2 separate regions of the Homo sapiens genome follow, and region 1 is linked to region 2. Evidence: promoter capture Hi-C in human tissues and cell types (Jung and others, 2019). All regions are on one chromosome and are shown on one strand. The core of a region is centred on a gene start or on the middle of the fragment in contact, and the rest is flanking DNA. Distances in the headings are between cores, read along the strand shown. Region 1 holds the start of LOC124907732 (a long non-coding RNA gene). Region 2 holds the start of NOL10 (nucleolar protein 10).

Region 1 (4,444 bases), core at 1,415-3,914, 260 kb after region 2:
CACACGCAATGCCACTCACACACAGCACACACCACCACACACATCCACAGCATACACAGTTACACCATGCCCCACACACCATGACACACACAGACACACATGCATCCACAACACACACATGTACACATAGTTACACCATGCCCCACACACCACCACACACGCAAACATACCACACACATCCACAGCACACACACAGTCACACCATCCCTCACACACCACTACACACGCAAATACACCACACACATCCACATCACACAAAGTCACACCATGCCCCACACACCACCACACACGCAAACATACCACACACATACACATCGCACACACGGTCACACCATGCCCACACACCACCACACATGCAAACACACCACACACCTCGACATCACACACAAAGTCACACCATCCCCACACCATTCCCACACACCCAAACACACCACACACATCCACAGCACACACTAAGACCACATGCCCCAGCCACACACACACCCAAGACAACACACAGACGCACACACACACACCTAGTGGATGAGCCCGCTCGAGCCCGGAGGGCCTGGCTGCAGCTGGAAGAGGCCGTGGGCAGGTGGCTCCAGGGCGGGCCAGGGTCTGCCTTCCCGTGAACTGCAGGAGGCAGGTGGCCCCTTCAGGTCGGGGCCCCATGGTACAGTCACACAGCCCGCTGGGAAGAGCCGGAGGAGCTGAGGCCTTCCAGGGGCCCTCCAGGGGCTGCCGCCCCGCCCGCCCCCGCTGGCCTCAGTCACCCCTCCTCCCGAGCTCCCTCCCACCCTCCCCAGCCTCCTGCCCCAGGCAGGCTGTACCCGCCCCCGCAGCTCCTGCGCCCCGGCAGTGCCCTGCTGTGCCATGCCCCGCGCTGGCCCTGGGGAGGTGTTTGCTGGATAAACAGCTGCCCCCCGGGGCCCAGGCCGCAGTGCTCCTTCGCCACCGTGTCTCCAGCATCACCCCTTCTCCTCTGAGACCTCTTCCCAGGCCACAGTAAGGGAGCCCCAAGCCAAGGAGAGGGCGTGCCCAGCTTAAAGGAAACTGACCTTGGCCCTGCCCTACCCCGCCCCACTCTGGGCCGGGATACATCGCTGCCGACCCGGAGCCGGAGCCCAGGACCAGCGGGCACCAGGCCCCTGCGCCGCAGTGGCGGGGTCAGAGCGGCAGGACTGGGTGGCTGGTGACAGGTGGGACTAGCGCGGGACCACTTGCCTCTCGAGCCGAGCCCCGCCCCTGCCCCACAGCTCCATTTTCTTCTTGTTCCTTTCAGGGCTGCCAGGCTGCCCCAAGCCGGAGTCTGTTCCCCGACGGCCGAGGCTCCCGCTGGCTGGCAGCTCCCCAGGCGTGTGGGTTTGATTCCCAACGGCGCCCAGCCCAGGGCAAGGCGGCTGGGGGAAGGCCACGCCACGGATGAACCCAAGGCCGAACTCCTGTTTTTCTAAATACCTTTTCCGGGGCCCACGAGGTCCCTCTCAGAAGCCTGAAGGTCCTGTGGGTTCTGTCTCCTCTTGGGGGGCTGTGATCCTAACTGGACCCCCGTTTTGGGTCCCTGCTCATGCGCACCCCTGATCTCAAGAGGCAGATAGAAGATCTAATGACGTACCTGCCTAAGCCCGGCAAGGAGGGGAGGGTTCCATTCGGAGTCCAGTGCCCCGCCCTGAGAAACGGGCGCTCAGGAGGGCGCCCCTCAGGCAGTGGTGGGGAGGCGCGCCCCCTTCTCCACTAGGGCGTGACCTGGCACGGGGTGGGGAGGGAGTCAGGCCTGGGTGCCACAAATACAGTGCGTTTAAGTCTTGTTCAGGGACCCAGGGAGAAACTCCTTCATTTCTCTAGACACCAGGGGCCCTGAAGGAGGCCGCTGGCAAGGAAACATGGACCCGGCTCCAGCCCAGCTACTGGAAGACCTTTCTGGAATCGGGAGAAGACGCACCTCGGACTTGGGAGCTGATCCTTCTTTCAATTCCTGATTCTGCCACCTCTTGCTAAGGATTTCAGGCTAGTTACTTAACTTCTCTTAAACCAGCATTATCAATCTGTATAATGTGGTAGTGATACCACATTGCAGGGTTGATGGGAGGGTTAAATTAGACGTTTAAAGTTTTAAACAGTGTCTGTACGTGGAAACCCTTGATAAATGGGAGCTAATGTTTTGCTAGCTCAATGCTGGTTCCCACGCGGGAGGCCAGTCTACCCAAGCAGAAAATGCCTGGGGCTGTATTAATTAAGGCCTAAGGTTCAGAGTAAGGGAGGTGACAGTCTTGCCCTACTAGGGGTTCATCGTGGCCTGACTAGATGAACTGTCTTGGGACTAACACCTCATACTGCCACCCTTCCCTCCACACTCCAGGGCTTCCTTCCTTCGAGTCTAAACATTTTCCTGTCTCAGGAGTTGTTCCCATTACCCTGTATTTACTCAGTGAGCATGGGACACCATGCAGTGAGTGTCAGGACAGCTGGTGGATGGGACCATGGAGCCACCGGAGCCATTTTCCAGAGTTTCTGTTGAGTCCACCCACATAAGCCTTGCTTATGCAGGTACATGATTAGATCTTCTATCTGTCTATAGGATAAGGGACACTTGTATGCAACTCCCAAGGAACTTTAACAACTTGGAGTGCCCGTGCAGGATGGCAAAGGGTCTGGGATCCCCTGGGGCAAGGAGAAGGCAGGACAAGAGAGAAGCTTGCAGAAGGAGGTGGTTGGAGGAAGAGGAAGCAGGCCCAGGGCCAGTACTGCAAATTACCAGGGAAGGACAGGTGGAGACACTTTCTTTCTTTTTTTTTTTTTTTTTGAGACAGAGTCTCTGTCACCCAGGCTACAGTGCAGTGGCACCGTCTCGGCTCACTGCAACCTCCGACTTCTGGGTTTACGCCATTCTCCTGCCTCAGCCTCCTGAGTAGCTGGGACTACAGGCGCCCACCACCATGCCCGGCTAATTTTTTATATTTTTAGTAGAGACGGGGTTTCACCGTGTTAGCCAGAATGGTCTCGATTTCCTGACCTCATGATCCACCCGCTTTGGCCTCCCAAAGTGCTGTGATTACAGGCGTGAGCCACCGCACCCAGCCGAGACACTTTCTAACAACCCGCCCTGAAAGATCCTGATCCCGGACAAAGGAAGAGACTGAGGAGGCCTCCTGCTGGGTGGGTGGCATGGACGACAGTTTTGGGTTCACTTCTGGGTTCTTTCCTCCTCTGATAGGCTGGGCTTCTTGGCACAGGGACACCATCTTTGGGGTTCAATTCCCTGCCTTCCCAGAGAGCACTGGACTCCTGGACAAATCATACTGGCTTCTGTGAGCTCCTTGTAGGGCAGGGTCCACTAGGATCCCCATATCTACCTCCTCCATATCTGAGCAGAGGTGGTTATAATGGTTAATTTTATGTGTCAACATGACTGGGCCAGGGGGTACCCAGACATTTGGGCAAACCGATTATTTTGGGTGTGCCTGTGAGGGTGCTTTTGGATGAATTTGACATTGGAACTGGTGACCAATGGGGGAACCAGGTGGGGTAAAGCAGATCCCCCTCCCCAATGTGGGGGTCCTCATCCACTCAGCTGAAGGCCTGAATAGGACAAAAGCCTGAGAATTTGTTCTTTGCCTCACAGTCTTGAGCTGGGACATTGGCCTCCTCCTCCCTTAAGATTCAGACTGGAACTACACCATTAGCTCTCCTGGGTCCCCAGCTTGCTGACCTCTGTCTACAGGGGACAGGGCTGCTTGTCTCCTTGGGACCTCTCAGCCTCCATAATCACGTATAAGCCAATTCCTTATGATAAATACATCTATCTAACCATCCATTCGCCTACCCATTCATCCATCCATCCATCCATCCATCCATCCATCCATCCACCCACCCGCCCACCCATCCATGCATCCACCCTCCCATCCAACCAATCACCCACCCATCCATACATACATACATCCACCCACCTGCCCACCCATCCACCCATCCATCCAGCCACCCACCCACCAACCCATCCATGCATCTACCCACCCACCCAACCATTCACCCATCCATCCATCCATCCATCCACCCACCCACCCACCCACCCATGCATGCATCCACCCACCCACCCAACCATTCACCCACCCATCCACCCATCCATCCATCCACCCACCCACCCAACCATCCATCCACCCATCCATCCATCCATCCAGCCACCCATTCATCCATCAACCGATCCACCTAGGGACCCATCCACCCACCCACCCATCCACCCATACTCCCATCCATCCATCTACCCACCGACCCATCCATCGACCCACCCATCCACCTATCGATCCACCCACCGACCCACCCATTCACCAACCCATCCACCCAGCCATCCATCCACCCATCCATGCATCCACCTGTCTATGCATCCACCCACCCATCCATTCACCCACCCATCCCCTCACCCACTCATCCATACATCCATCCATCCATCCATCCACCCACCCACCCA
Region 2 (4,746 bases), core at 2,180-4,679:
TGTCCTCCTCGGCTTCCCAATGTGCTGGAATTATAGGCATGAGCCACCATGCCCAGCCTTTTTTTTTTTTTTGAGACGGAGTTTCACTCTTGTTGCCCAGGCTGGAGTGCAATGGCACAATCTTGGCTCACTGCAACCTCCGCCTCCCGGGTTTAAGCGATTCCTGTGCCTCAGCCTCCAGATTAGCTGGAACTACAGGTGCCAACCACCACACCTGGCTAATTTTTGTATTTTTAGTACAAACAGGGTTTTGCTGTGTTGGCCAGGCTGGTCTAGAACTCCTGGCCTCAAGTGATCTGCCCGCCTCAGCCTCCCAAAGTGCTGGGATTAGAGGTATGAGCTACTGCGCCTGGTCATGATTAGTTTTTTTTTGTTTGTTTGTTTTTGTTTTTGAGACGGAGTCTCGGTCTATTGCCCAGGCTGGAGTGCAGTGGCGCCATCTCTGCTCACCACAACCTCTGCCTCCCGGGTTCAAGCAATTCTCCTGCCTCAGCCTCCTGAGTAGCTGGGACTACAGGTGCGTGCCACCATGCCCGGCTAATTTTTGCATTTTTAGTAGAGACAGGGGTTTCACTATGTTCACCAGGCTGGTCTTGAACTCCCGACCTCGTGATCTGCCTGCCTTGGCCTCCCAAAGTGCTGGGATTACAGGCGTGAGCCACCGTGCTCAGCCCATGATTAGGTCTTAAGGGCAGAGCTCTCATGAATGGGATTGGTGCCCTTACAAAATACAGGTTGAGTATCCCTAATCTGAAAATCCAAAATCTAAAATGCTCCAAAATCTGAAACTTTCTGAATGTCAATGTGATGCTCAAAAGGAAATGCTCACTGGAGCATTTCGGACTTGAAATGTTTGGATTAGGGATGCTTAACTGGTAGACCCATCTCTATAAAAACAAAACAGCCAGCTCTGGTGGTGTGCCTGTACTCCCAGCTACTCAGGAGGATAAGGTGGAAGGACAGCTTGAGCTCGAGTTTGAGGCTGCAGTGGGTCATGATCATGCCACTGTATTCCAACCTGGACAACAAAGTGAGATGCCCCCATGGAAAAAACCCACAACGCCAACAGAAAGTAGATTAGTGGTTGTCTAGGGCTTGGGTGGGGGATGGGGCATGGAGTGAATGCTAATTGAGGCTGGGGTTTCTTTTTGTTCTAAAAATGATTGTGGTGATGGTTGCAGAACTCTGAATACACTAGAAGTCATTACATTGTACATTCAATGGGGACATTTTACAGTATGTTAATTATATCTCAATAAAACTGTTAAAAAGGAAATGTTAATGGAATTTGGATACATTTCCACTTATTTGGTATATGGCTTTATTTTCAGTTTTATTTTACAAACACTTACATGGTCTTACTATGTGCCAAGTACTGGGTTCCAAACGTTTTATAAATATGAATGTATTTCATCCTCATAACTCTGTGAAGTGGATACTACTGTTATCTCCATTTTACACAGGTACAGAGAGGTTAGGTAACTTACCTAAGGTCTTTCAGTTAAAAATGGCAGTCGGGATTTGAATCTTGCCAGTCTGGCTTCAGAGTCTGTGATCTTTATTTATTTTTCAAGAGATAGGGTCTTGCTGTGTTGCCCAAGCTGGAGTACAGTGTTAGTCACAGGCATGATCCCATTACTGGTGAGCATGGGAGTTTTGACTTGCTCCATTTCTGACCTGAGCCGCTTCACACCTCCTTAGGTAACATGGTGGTCCCTGGCTCTTGTGGGGTCACCATATTGATGCCAAACTGAGGACACCCAACGCTCGTTGCGTGCTACAGCCAAGAACTCCTGGGCTCAAGTGATTCTCCTGCTTCGGCTTCACTAGTAGCTAGGACAATAGGCCTGCACCACCAAGCCAAGCCAGAGTCTGTGATCTAACCATTCTATTATGCCACCTTTCCCAAAGATGTTTACAGTTTTTCTTAACTGTAACCAGTGTAGAAAATTAAAAATTTGTGGAGGATCTTAAATTTGAGGACAGAGTTAAGGAATATATCCCTACGTACATGGCTAAATGTAAATATGTAGCAATGCCTAATAGAGGCCAGGCACTGTTCTGGTACTCTGGGTAGGGGTGGATGGGGTGGATAGGGAATATAAGGACAAATGATATAGGGTCCACGAAGAACTCTCAACCTAATTCTGATGCAATGTGGTGTTGGTATTTGAGAGTTTCCAAAATGTTGTGGGTAGGAGAGCAAAACAATAATATTTGGGTTTTAGAAAGTAAGGCATAAAATAATTTGTTCATTAAATCAAAGGAAGTAAGAAGATCACTTGGGAAAGTTATAATCCAAAAATAGTTAAGTATTTGAGTTTCAGCAGGAGGAATGAAAACAGATTACTTTAAGGAAATATTTCATAATTAGAAATATCCAGGTTTAGATACTGAAAGTGAGGGCCAGAGATAGGAATGGGTTGAAGATGACGCCACAGTCTTCTTTTTTTTTTTTTTTTTTTTTTGAGACGGAGTCTCACTCTGTTGCCCAGGCTGGACTGCAGTGGCACGATCTCAGCTGACGGCAACCTCTGCCTCCCGGGTTCAGGCGATTCCCCCACCTCAGCCTTCAGAGTAGCTGAGATTACAGGCGCGCGCCACCAGGCCCGACTGATTTTTGTATTTTTAGTAGAGACGGGGTTTCACCATCTTGGCTAGGCTGGTCTTGAACTCCTGACCTCAGGTGATCCGCCCGCCTCGGCCTCCCAAAGTGTTAGGATTACAGGCGTGAGCCACCGCACCCGGCCTACAGTACTTCTAACGTAACATCGCAGAAACACTGGAGGAGAGAAGAGAATACACTTCCACTCGGAATTCGCACCCTGGTCGCCTTCATTCGCTGGGTTCACTCGCTGAACTGCCTCGCCCCCGCCCGGGAGGATGACATCTCGGCCTGGGCAGAGACTCGAAAGCCTCCTCCTGCCGCTCGGGATGCTAACAGCAGGGAGAGCTGTGTCTAGTTTTTTTTTTTTTTTTTTTTTTTTTGAGAGGGAATCTCGCTCTGTCCCCCAGGCTGGAGTGCAGCGGCGCGATCTCAGCTCACTGCAACCTCCGCCTCCCAGGTTCAAGCAATTCTCCTGCCTCAACCTCCCGTGTAGCTGGGACTACAGATGCCGGCCACCACGCAAGGCTAATTTTTTTGTATTTTTAGTAGAGACGGGGTTTCACCATATTGGTCAGGCTGGTCTCGAACTCCCGACCTCAGGTGATCCGCCCGCCTCAGCCTCCCAAAGTGCTGGGATTACAGGCGTGAGCCACCGCGCCCGGCTTGTGTCTAGTCTTGCCCGTAGCAGCGTCGCCGACAGCCACGCCGGGTTGTCAGAGCCTCACTAGTTTTTCTCCCGGCCGCCGCTCTTCCCGGATTCAGCCACCTTCCCTCTTCCGGGAACTTGCCCGCGTGTTCCGGCTCCAGGAAGTGCGTCATCAGTCGGCGCCAGCGGCCGCACGCCGCGGAGCAGGGGCTCGGAGGTCCCGGGATTACGGTGCTCGAGCACGCTGGTGGGAAAGGACCCGGGACTTGAACAGTGTTGTGCGGCGCCATGCAGGTCTCCAGCCTCAATGAGGTGAAGATTTACAGCCTCAGCTGCGGCAAGTCCCTTCCTGAGGTGAGTCACTTCCCGGCCCCCTCACTCTCGAGCTCTTGGGGGTCGTCCTCCTCGTGGGGCAGCCGCCCCTCTCCTCGGCCCTAGCCTCTGTTTTAGCTGGACGCTGGTCACCCCCCGACTCGGGGAGGCCCAGAGGCGGCTGACAATTTCCGGGGGAGGTGTCGGCATTGGGAGACAAGGACACTGCCGTCACCGCGCCAGAAACTGGACCAAGGGATAATCAGGGTCAGTGAGCTTTGCTGGAACTTTTGTAAAGTTCTCTGTTCCAGAGAACGCAACCATTTGGGCCTCTTTGGGTGTTCACAGTCCCTGCCGTACATCGAGGAGGAAAACGTGGCAGATTCGTTGACACATCTCTCCCCCATATGGCCATCAGCTGTTTGTGGAGTCCCTATCATTTGCCAGGTCTTAGGGATACAACAGTGAACAAGGGAGATACAGACTTCGCATCTGCAGAATTTATGGTGTAGAGGACAGTATTTTCGAGACTTGTTGAACTTAACCTGATTCCTAGTCTTAAAGTTGGAGAGGGCTTGGACAAGTCGGTAATTCTCTTCCAATCTTCTCGTGTTTAGTAATGCAGCTGAGATTTAATAATGCGTTTAATATGCAGCTGAGATCCAGCAAGGGGAAGGGTGACTTGTCCAGCATGACACACTTAGGCTCTGAAACTTGTCTTTTGTTTCTTATACGTGATGATCCAGCCTCTGTCCAAGCACTACCACTGAGCACTACCTTTTGTGGAAGCTCATTTCCATTTTGAGACTCTGCACTTGTTAGAAAGTGGTTTTCAAATATGTCACCTTATAGCATGCCACTGTTGGCCTGAGTCCTGCCCTTGGAAAACAGAATAAATATAGCTCTCCTTCCATGCGTCTGCTTCTACAAAAATTTGGAGCCAGTGCTTAGGTTTTTCCTTTCTTCCTAAAATTCTGGTTTGAATAATTCCCTGTCTTCCAGTTGTTCTTCACACCCCATGAGCTTTCTCATTTTGTTCATTCATTCTCCACATGTATTGAGAAGTTACTGTGTGCAAGCAACTCTGTTTTAAGTATTGGGATCTATAGTGGACATTTCAGATAAGGTTCCCTGTTGGGGAAAAGGGAAATAAACAAGTGAGCAAATAAGGCAATTTAAG

Evidence for each region. The method cuts DNA at HindIII sites, captures the fragments that hold promoters and counts their contacts. A contact is called where the count stands out against the background at its distance.
Region 1: a contact is called between a fragment that was not itself captured here and the fragment with the promoter of NOL10 in region 2, in 1 of the 25 tissues and cell types used here (lymphoblastoid cells).

What each region holds. Positions count from the first base shown.
Region 1 is chr2:10,429,241-10,433,684 of GRCh38, reverse strand. It overlaps LOC124907732 (a long non-coding RNA gene), which reads left to right and starts at 872. Exons shown (of 2, transcript XR_007086214.1): 1 at 872-987; 2 at 1,828-2,099. RefSeq lists enhancers at 1-100, 101-1,066 and a silencer at 761-820. The HindIII fragment of the contact is 4,159 bases long and covers 585-4,444 here.
Region 2 is chr2:10,688,658-10,693,403 of GRCh38, reverse strand. NOL10 (nucleolar protein 10) reads left to right here and starts at 3,429. Exons shown (of 21, transcript NM_024894.4): 1 at 3,429-3,608. The coding sequence starts at 3,543. It also overlaps the pseudogene RN7SL832P. RefSeq lists enhancers at 3,583-3,862, 3,923-3,982. The HindIII fragment of the contact is 16,217 bases long and covers 1-4,746 here.